2 separate regions of the Homo sapiens genome follow, and region 2 is linked to region 1. The links are contacts of gene promoters, found by promoter capture Hi-C in human tissues and cell types (Jung and others, 2019). All regions are on one chromosome and are shown on one strand. Each heading gives the region's core, a stretch centred on a gene start or on the middle of the fragment in contact. The rest is flanking DNA. Distances are from core to core; before and after follow the strand shown.

Region 1 (5,376 bases), core at 1,769-4,268:
AAAATATTGTTTTAAATAAATGGACCTTGTGAAATTGCACATGATATTTGCTTTTCATAATGTTTGCTGTAATAGAATTTTACTCGTATCTAAAACTCATTTGGCATAGACATATTTCCAATTTTCTTTCACTTTTCACTGAAAATTTTTAATTACTGGAGTTGGAAAGAAAGTATCTCTTTTAGTAGAGAGAAAAGTTAATACAACTGAGCAACTTGATATCTTTAGCAACTATGTAAATAAATATACACATCTTTCTTTTATTTACATTTGGTGAGCCACATCTAAAATATATGCTAGCAAAACTGGGGAGCTGTGAAATATGACGACACCACACTGATAGATATCAGTCACAATCTGGCAAGGAAAAGAAGGGAGTTGCTTTCATTTTCTGTTTGTTTTTAGAATTATTCTTAAAACTAGATAAATGTGACAATTGTGCCAATTTTTTGCCTCAATATTTTAAGATGAATGGCAAAAATTAGAAAGAAAAGGACAATCTAATGCTTAAAATATGGCAAATGAACAAATTCTGTATTATCCATTTCTAAAGGAAAAGTATTTCGAAATTTAAAAATTTTTAAGAAATTCAGCAAAATTACAGTAGTCTTTGAAACATTACTATAAAAAGTAGATTATTTTGTTTCCTCTGGGAAAAACTCAAATAGACACAGGATAATGGTCTAATGAACAAGAATGTCAGGATAGCTAACAAGTACTTTGAATAAGATATAAAACAGAATAGTGTGTTTGAATTTTATATTTTGATTACTCTTATCCATCCTTCCATTTTATAAAAATATGGCTGATTCGTAAAAATAATTAAGCAGTATTAGGAAGTATATTTGCTCAATGAAGAAGACATAGTACCCTTGGGCTGTTATTTACAGAAATGACATCATTCATCTTTCTAATCCATTCTAAGTTGCTTATGCGTTGGTCCTCAATGCTGTTTGCTACCTACATTTATTTATCCAGAGTGAAATAGTAACTATCAACTGAGCCACACTATCTTCTTCAAAAATTCCACTTTATTCATTTTTTGGTCAATATTTCACCTATTTTTGAAGTTTTACTATTTGCAAATACATTGTTTTCTTTGTATAAAATACATCTAATGTCTATACACTAGTAATATTACTTGTTCTCAGCTTCAGGAAACACTTTACAGCTGTAAGTTGAACAAACACTACGTTGTTAAACATGCCATTGTTGTGGTGTTAAATACATCAATAGAAAGGAGAAGATGGATCTGTTGCATCTGCTGCCACTGCTCTATAAATTTATTTTTATTTCAAAAGTTCTTACCAACAATTTATTTAAAATAAACAATTCCTGAGATTTACATTGCACTATCCCAGTTTCAGTAATTTTTATTCTGAAGGTTTGCAAGGAATTGGCATTTTTCCCTTATATACTCAGAAGCTTTGCAAACACTTTAAAAGACTATATAAAACCTTTAAAATGAGAAGTACATCTATGTATTTTTTAAATAAAATATTAAGGATATTAAGCCATTGTAATGATGTAAACAAAAAGTCAAGCTTTTATTGGGTAGTTACAAAAGTTATAATTAGATTCTTTTTTGTTCCTTTTTTGCTTAAGAATTTTATGAGTTGCCTGAATAGGAAAAATTAAATTAACAGTTTTTTTTTCCTTTTAACCTGTTTCTGCTTTTGTGTCAATGTCAACCGGGATGCGAATGGGGCATTGTGGGAGACAGGAGAGGACAATACTGGGGAGAATTAGCGCATTGGCGGTAGCCTTTCAATTCCAGCGCTGAAGCAACAGACTGAGAGGAGGTGAACCTTTACCTTCTCCCAGGCACAGACAAGGCGAGGTGAGGCAGAGATGGATTGCAGAACCGCATTAAGCAACCGCGGGGTGGAGGAGAGTGCAGGGTGTCTCCAAACCCTGGGAGGGCTATCTTCTCCTTTCAGAGCACATTTCTGCCCAGGTCTTTTTATTCTCAGTGCAGCTCGCTCCCTGGTGGCTTAAATTACGGTAAACGAAATAAGGTCCGTTAAAAACCACTTCTGAGAGGGGTGATTATTGGGGGTTTTGAAAGCACAGAGGTCTTATAGAGACCAAAAATATGTGCCTCGCTAAGATACAGAAAGGCTTGTAAGTGAATCTTCATAACTCTGGGTACGTGCATGTATATGCACATATACGTATGCATGTCTCGTTTCTATACCTTATATAAGTTTTCTGCCCAAAACTTTCCTCGTCCGTGCGTTCCCTACCACGGCGCATCTAATCTGTCTGCCCTATTTGTGGCTGCACAGCTCATTCTTGCAACCGGCTGGGGAGCTGTTGCTTCTGCCAACGCCGCCGTCAGCCAGAGCGCTGAAGAAAAGCTGAAGGCCAGCAGGCAACGAAAGAGTAAAGAAAACGCCCTCCTCCTGCCCATCTCCTCCACCACAGCCTCCCCAGTCCTCCCAGGTGACTCCCAAACAGTAGAAAGTTGGCTCAGAGATAGGGCAGAAGAACCGGGGGGCTGGGCGGCTGAGGCCGGGAGGTGGGAGAGGCGGGTCCTGCAGCCCCGAGAGCCCCCCGCGGCTGCAGCGGCAGCTGTCACCTCCTGGCCTCGCCCCACAGCACACCTGAGCCTCCTGGGCAGCCCCGAGCCCACAGCTCCCAGCAGAGGCGCTAACTGCCCTCCTCAAGCACAGGTCGCCGCGTCCCCAACTCCCTGTCCTCACCCCGGCCCGCCCGTCTCCTCCTCCGCCCTCTCCCGACTGCAGCGGGGGCAGCGCTTTGGCGCTCCCAAGGACTCCCCGCCACTCTCCCCACAAAGCAGCGGCGGTGGCGGCGGCTGCTGCTGGATCTTCACACTGCAGCCAGCAGCCCAGGACGCCCCCGGCCGGACGATGGGTACCCGCGCCTGAGCATCCCCCGGGCAGGCGCCAGGCGCGAAGGCAGGGGGCGGGAGGAAAGGGGCGGGGGAATTCCTGATTCCCTGGTGGACCCTGGAAGTTGTCCTTAAATAAATATATCGCTGGCCCGCGGTTGAGCAGCCACCTCGTCAGAGCAGCATGTGGACTGGCTCGCCGGGTCCCCTCCGTGCTCTGTGCTGTCGCCGCCGCCGCCTCTGTCAGAGCAGCAGCTGTCGGCAGCAGGAGCCCCGCACGGGGCGCGGAGCAGGGACGCGCTGCCACCGCCTCCCCCTGCGTCCTGCTGGCCGCGTCTTCTCGGGAGGTGGTAGTCGCTGTTGCCGCTGAGAAACCCGCCCGCTTTCCACGGCTGGTCGCCTGGTGAGGAGTTGAGACTCTGCGCCTCCGCCCGGACCCACATGGCTTGTTACCTGGTCATCAGTTCGAGACATCTCAGCAATGGGCACTACCGGGGCATTAAAGGAGTCTTCAGGGGACCCCTGTGCAAGAACGGATCTCCCTCTCCGGTAATGTGCGCGCGCACACACATACATACACAAACGTTCCAACTCAACACAAACAAAAAGATATTGAGAGATAGTATCCTGATACAATGAGTAGGTGGTGGACATCTAAAACGTATACCTTATCCATAGGTATGGAGATACATCGTGTCCGTTTATACAATTTATTGACAGACTGTGACACAGAGAGGGGTGTGTATTTACATGTGTATTTTCAATTCAGTCAGTAGGATCTATAGTGCTACGGATGTAAATACTTACTGAATGCAGTCAACTGCAGGGCTCAGAAGGTAGCTCCTCTGTGCTATGTCAACTTACGAATCTGCTGATTTGAGCAGTGTAGAAAGTTTGAGTGGCACGTTATAATGTGCTTTTGTAAAGTCATCAGTTGAGATTAGTTTAATAATGCTACTGTTACTTTGTGAGAAAAACTCAAAGATTTTCCCTCAAATCATTGGCAAAAGGAAAGTTATAGGTAGTGAAAACTTGATTATATCTAATGCTCAACTATGCACATTCTTTAAGGGGAAGTAAGAGAATTCTTTATGGAAATCTGAGTTGGATAATTTATTGTATAATATACAAATATATTAACATGCAATTAACGTGATTGCTTTTTAACTTAGTAAACTATTCAATTTAGTTACTATTCAGTTTATTCACATTCTTTTTATAAAATAATTTCATCCAGATTATATGAGTTAAATACATTATTAATTCATTTCTTGGTACATGCTATTATGTTTTAAGGCTCCAAATATGTTTCAAGAAAATGTGTGTGAATGTGTATGTGTGTGTAATTTATATATATATATAATAAATATATATATAATAAATATATATATAATAAATATATATATATATTAGTTTTGGACTACTAGTGACTAAGTATCCAAACTTAAAGACCAACTTTTGAGGTTTCATATAAAAAACAGTATTTAAGTCTGTATGATATCAAGAGGGAAAACTGAAATTGCCCAACTTTAATTTTTTTATGTTTGATATTTTCCATCATGGTTTAATGCTTCTTTAGCATGAATTATTCAAAACTGCAACATATTATAAAAGCCTTTGATTATTAATAAATGCTATATGTAATTTACATGAGAAATCTAAGATCAGAAAGTACAGGTGCCCAGAGATATCACTAGGATTCCTCATGACAAACTATTCCTTCACATGCTTTTATGTACTATAAAAAGTGGGTTGTTGCAACTGCTCCCCCCAACAACTGTATACAGTACTGAGTCAGAACTGTTAGATGGAAAATACTGTTTGTATAAGTACTTAACAATTAAACTCACAGGGTTAGCAGGCACTTGCAGAGTTCTAGTTTAATAAAGCCCACATTCAGTCCCTCTAAGTAGCAGGTCTGAATCTTTCCCATTTCTAAAGATTCTCAGAATTGGAGTTCCTGCAGTCTCAGCAAACCACTTTAATGTTTAACAACTCACAGTGCCAGGAGAATCTTTCTTACAGCCAACTTAAATCCTTTAAATTCTTCTTTAAGTCTATTTCATCTAGAAAACATACAATGTTCTGCCTTTCTCACAGGTATTATTTTTCAACGCTTTGGTAATCTCCGTGCCTGTCTCCCTTGCCCTCCTTTTGGTTATGGAAAACTAAATTGGGTAGGGCATTGTACTGTTTGTGCCTTAAGACTTCTCAGTATAAAGGGAGAATTGCTTCATAATCTTACACGGTTTAGTTCTATTCAAGTTGGTTAGACTATGGTGTTCATCTTCCCAAATCTGTAGGGCTTGCAGAAGAATTTCTGTTACATGGTCAAAAAGTGTCCTTTCTCTCCCACTTTGGTCAGTCATCTCCCAAGAGCCTGACTGACACTATAGAGACTGGATGTGTGAATGTGGATGGGAGAAGACAGCCCATTGACCACATGGCTGTGCTGGTTGACCAGGGTTCACCAGGTACTCCCCACCCTCAGGGCACTATTTTTATTCACTGCTGGGCTGGTT
Region 2 (5,376 bases), core at 1,026-3,525, 440 kb after region 1:
TGGATATTAGCCCTTTGTCGGATAAGTAGGTTGCGAAAATTTTCTCCCATTTTGTAGGTTGCCTGTTCACTCTGATGGTATTTCTTTTGCTGTGCAGAAGCTCTTTAGTTTAATTAGATCCCATTTGTCAATTTTGGCTTTTGTTGCCATTGCTTTTGGTGTTTTAGACATGAAGTCCTTGCCCATGCCTATGTCCTGAATGGTAATGCCTAGGTTTTCTTCTAGGGTTTTTATGATTTTAGATCTAACATTTAAGTCTTTAATCCATCTTGAATTAATTTTTGTATAAGGTGTAAGGAAGGGATCCAGTTTCAGCTTTCTATATATGGCTAGCCAGTTTTCCCAGCATCATTTATTAAATAAGGAATCCTTTCCCCATTGCTTGTTTTTCTCAGGTTTGTCAAAGATCAGATAGTTGTAGATATGCGGTGTTATTTCTGAGGGCTCTGTCCTGTTCCATTGATCTATATCTCTGTTTTGGTACCAGTACCATGCTGTTTTGGTTACTGTAGCCTTGTAGTATAGTTTGAAGTCAGGTAGTGTGATGCCTCCAGCTTTGTTCTTTTGGCTTAGGATTGACTTGGCGATGCGGGCTCTTTTTTGCTTCCATATGAACTTTAAAGTAGTTTTTTCCAATTCTGTGAAGAAAGTCATTGGTTGCTTGATGGGGATGGCATTGAATCTATAAATTACCTTGGGCAGTATGGCCATTTTCATGATATTGATTCTTCCTACCCATGAGCATGGAATGTTCTTCCATTTGTTTGTATCCTCTTTTATTTCCACCATGATCAAGTGGGCTTCATCCCTGGGATGCAAGGCTGGTTCAATATATGCAAATCAATAAATGTAATCCAGCATATAAACAGAACCAAAGACAAAAACCACATGATTATCTCAATAGATGCAGAAAAGGCCTTTGACAAAATTCAACAACCTTCATGCTAAAAACTCTCAATAAATTAGGTATTGATGGGACATATCTCAAAATAATAAGAGCTATCTATGACAAACCCACAGCCAATATCATACTGAATGGGCAAAAACTGGAAGCATTCCCTTTGAAAACTGGCACAAGACAGGGATGCCCTCTCTCACCATTCCTATTCAACATAGTGTTGGAAGTTCTGGCCAGGGCAATTAGGCAGGAGAAGGAAATAAAGGGTATTCAATTAGGAAAAGAGGAAGTCAAATTGTCCCTGTTTGCAGATGACATGATTGTATATCTAGAAAACCCCATTGTCTCAGCCCAAAATCTCCTTAAGCTGATAAGCAACTTCAGCAAAGTCTCAGGATACAAAATCAATGTACAAAAATCACAAGCATTCTTATACACCAATAACAGACAAACAGAGAGCCAAATCATGAGTGAACTCCCATTCACAATTGCTTCAAAGAGAATAAAATACCTAGGAATCCAACTTACAGGGGATGTGAAGGACCTCTTCAAGGAGAACTACAAACCAAAAGCTTCTTAAGCTGATAAGAAACTTCAGCAAATCTTAGGATGCAAAATCAATGTGCAAAAATTTCTAGCATTTCTATACACCTACAGTAGGCAAGCAGAGAGCCAAATCATGAAAGAACTCCCATTCACAATTGCTTAAAAAAAAGAAGAAAATACCTAGAAATATAATTTACAAGAGAAGTGAAGGACCTCTTGAAAGAGAACTATAAACCACTGCTCAAAAAATCAGAGAGGACACAGGCAAATGGAAAATTATTCCATGCTCATGAATAAGAAGAATCAACATCATGAAAATGGCCATACTGCCCAAAGTAATTTATAGATTTGAAGCTATTCCCATTAAACTACCATCGACATTCTTCACAGAATTAGAAAAAACTATCTTAGAATTCATATGGAACCAAAAAAAGAGCCTGAATAGCCAATACAATCCTAAGTGTAAAGAACAAAGCTGGAGGCACCACACCACCTGACTTCAAACTATACTTCAAGACTACAATAACCAAAAGAGCATGATACCAGTATTAAAACAGACCCATAGGCCAATGAAATAGAATAGAAACTTTGGAAATAAGGCCACACACTTAAAACCATCTGATCTTTGACAACACGTAGACCAATGGAACAGAATAGAGAATTCGGAAATAAGACCACACACCTACAACCATGAGATCTTTGACAAACCTGACAGTGATAAGCAATAGGGAAAGGACTCCTATTTAATAAATGGTGCTGGGAAAGCTGGCTAGCCATATGCAGAAAATTGTATCTGGACCCCCTCCTTACACCTTATACAAAAATTAACTCGAGATGGATTAAAGACTTAAATGTAAAACCCAAAACCATAAAAACCCAGGAGAAAATCTAGGCAATAACATCTGACATAGGCAGAGGCAAAGATTTCATGAGAGAGATGCCAAAAGCAATTGCAACAAAAGCAAAAATTGACAAATGGGATCTAATTAAACTAAAGAGCTTCTGTATAGCAAAAGAAACTATCATCAGAGTGAACAGACAACCTACAAAATGGGAGAACATTTTTGCAATCTATCCATCCAAAAAAGGGTAATATCCAGCATCTACAAGGAACTTAAACAAAATAACAGGAAAAAAACCCTATTAAAAAATGGGCAAAGGACATGAATAGACACTTCTCAAAATAAGACATATGTACGATCAACAAACATATGAAAAAAAGCTCAACATCACTGATCATTATAAAAATGCAGATCAAATCTACAATGAGAGAGCATCTCACGCCAATCAGAATGGCTATTAGTAAAAAGTCAAAAAACAACAGATGCTGGCAAGTTTGCAGAGAAATAGGAATGCTTTTACACTGTTGGTGGGAGTGTAAATTAGTTCAACCATTATGGGAGACTGTGGTGATTCCTCAAAGAGCTAGTGGCAGAAATACTATTTGACCCAGCAATCTTAATACCTAGGTGATGGGATGATTTGTGCAGCAAACCACTGTGTCACACATTTACCTATGTAACAATCCTGCACATCCTGCAGAGATAGCCCTGAACTTAAAATAAAAGCTGAAGAAAAAAAATTATCTTTATATCTTTCAACTACTAACACCTAAAACAAAACAAAACGGAACAGAACAAAAAGGCCTCAGTGCCTGACTGCAGCAGTTTTAAAAGTTTTTCCAGGGACAATATGCGTTGCCACAAAAATCTGACAGGAAGAAAATAAAAAGCAGATGCAAAATATGTGAAAATAAAAGTGACACTACCAGCTCTGCCTTTGTTGATGGCTTCCTTTTGCAAATTGTCTTCCACTAAGTAATGTAGTCTGCATAAAAATCCTTTCATTTTTCTTCCTCTTTTCTTCCATTGGCTGTTTGATTATAATATTTTGTATATACTATAAGAGTTTTCATATTATCTACTTTTTTGTAACTGCTACATGAAAATAAAAAGAGAAGCACTTTTGAAATTTTAATTATGAGAAAACCAGGAATCTTAGATCTTGATTCAATCTATGTCACTCGGTTACTCATTAGAATTTATATTTTTCTCTTAACAGCACGCTTAGATTCTTGATTTTTCCTTTTCTTGTTATAATAGTATATGCACAGGTTAGTGGATTTAGATTTAGTTTCGTTATATAGAGTTAAAGATATCTTTAGTTAAAGATAGTTGACATTTTTGTACACTTTAGTTTTGAATACTGAAGAAATACCTCATTTCTATGTGAATAAATTATTCTTCAATTGAGTAGCAAATTGGATGCTTAGACATTACTAAAAGTTATTTAAATAATGACACCTTATTAGTATGTTTCCACATACAGATCTGGCCATTAAATATTGATGAGTAGAACACTGACCTTAGAATGTCCAAGTTTTCATGAAAATATTCACTAAATGAACAATAGGATTAGCAAACAAACGGATTATTAAACCTTTGCAAATAGATTATTAAATCTTTGCAAATACATATTTTTATTGCAATACTAGCTTGATCAACTAATGATATGATTTAAGGCATATAGGTTAAAATGGGGATAGTTTATGGAAATGCTACTCACACATATGGAGTCATATGTAATTTTTAAAGCTTTTAACTATTAAACAGGCAAAATAATTGGTGTGAATCTAGACATTCTTTTAGTTAGAAATGTTATAAATTGATACCTTTCATTTTACTATTTATAGTAAATGCATAAAGCCCAAAGTAATTTCTAATCACCTTGCATGTTCATGCTCACTATTTATGTTTACAATAATATTAATAGCGTTTGTAAGACTACATATTTTCTTCTAATGAAAGCATTATAGAATCAATTAGATCACATTGCAATTAGTGAAAAACACTATAAGCTAGTGTGTTTTATACTAAATAAAAAATAATGTGACCTTGAGGTTACCTGTCACTACTCAAGGAATATTTTCACTGTAAATGCAATAAAAGTTAATACATGTAATTACAGAGTGATTAAACATTATTTATTGTTCATCTTTGAGTAGATTTATCTGTTATAAATTGATAAAATTTTAAATAACTGCTTTTTTATAAAGTAGTAAGAATACAATAGAAAATATATAAAGCTTTCTATCAATAACAAAAACAAGTACAGAAAAACAAAAAACCTAGTCCATGTGTACTCCAGCCAAAGGCAGAAATCCAAAAGACACAGTAGCAAAAGGTCATGTCAGGATGCTAGCTCACCATCTGTAGCAGAAAGCAGAGCCTGTTTTCAGTAAGGAAAATGTATGTTTAATGCAAAGAACATTATTTCTAACAAGTAACTTATCGGGAATATGGAGCCATAAGGAGTTTAGAAGTAAAAAAGTCAGCAATAAAGGGCACTGGTGTCCCTAAAAGGCCATGATTAAGTGTCTGGCTGAGGCTTCTGCTTGCACAGGATTTTTTCTTCCCTCTCTTAGTTTGCAGCACAAAGACTGGCCCCACTGGAAGAAAAACTTGTTATCCATATAGTGTATCACTCAGTTGGGTACAGATAACTACATCTCTTCCTTGTGGGAAGAAATCCTTTTTATTAGGCTTTGTGGGCCCATTCTTTACTTACATTGTTTGGGTGCCAGTTATGGGAGGCCAGGCTTTCCCTTTCCCACTGGAGTCAGCATTCTTCAGGGCAATCCTCAAAACTCCTGCAAGACTCCATTCCCAAACCAGACTCTTCTACTCTAACCTGCCAATTTTTAAAAAATTATTACAGTACAGCACATTCAAATCTAATGTCATGTTTTTATATTGCTGTTAAAATCTGAAAAAGACAAAATAACCCAAAACAAAACTTAGGAAATATGAACAAATTAACAGCATAATAGAAATATAAGGCTTTTACTATACTAAGTATTTACTTGAATTGTTTCTATAATCAATATATTGGCCTGATGTGTTAGTTACACTTACACATTCATTTAACAGATG

The links. The method cuts DNA at HindIII sites, captures the fragments that hold promoters and counts their contacts. A contact is called where the count stands out against the background at its distance.
Region 2: a fragment that was not itself captured here is called in contact with the fragment with the promoter of ZNF804B in region 1 in 2 of the 25 tissues and cell types used here (H1 embryonic stem cells and dorsolateral prefrontal cortex).

Annotation. Positions count from the first base shown.
Region 1 is chr7:88,756,682-88,762,057 of GRCh38, forward strand. ZNF804B (zinc finger protein 804B) reads left to right here and starts at 3,019. Exons shown (of 4, transcript NM_181646.5): 1 at 3,019-3,403. The coding sequence starts at 3,296. RefSeq lists an enhancer at 3,165-3,709. The HindIII fragment of the contact is 17,200 bases long and covers 1-5,376 here.
Region 2 is chr7:89,194,204-89,199,579 of GRCh38, forward strand. The region is part of intron 1 of ZNF804B (zinc finger protein 804B); the gene reads left to right. Among named protein-coding and RNA genes, the nearest start is that of TEX47, 400 kb to the left of the region's middle. The HindIII fragment of the contact is 4,016 bases long and covers 268-4,283 here.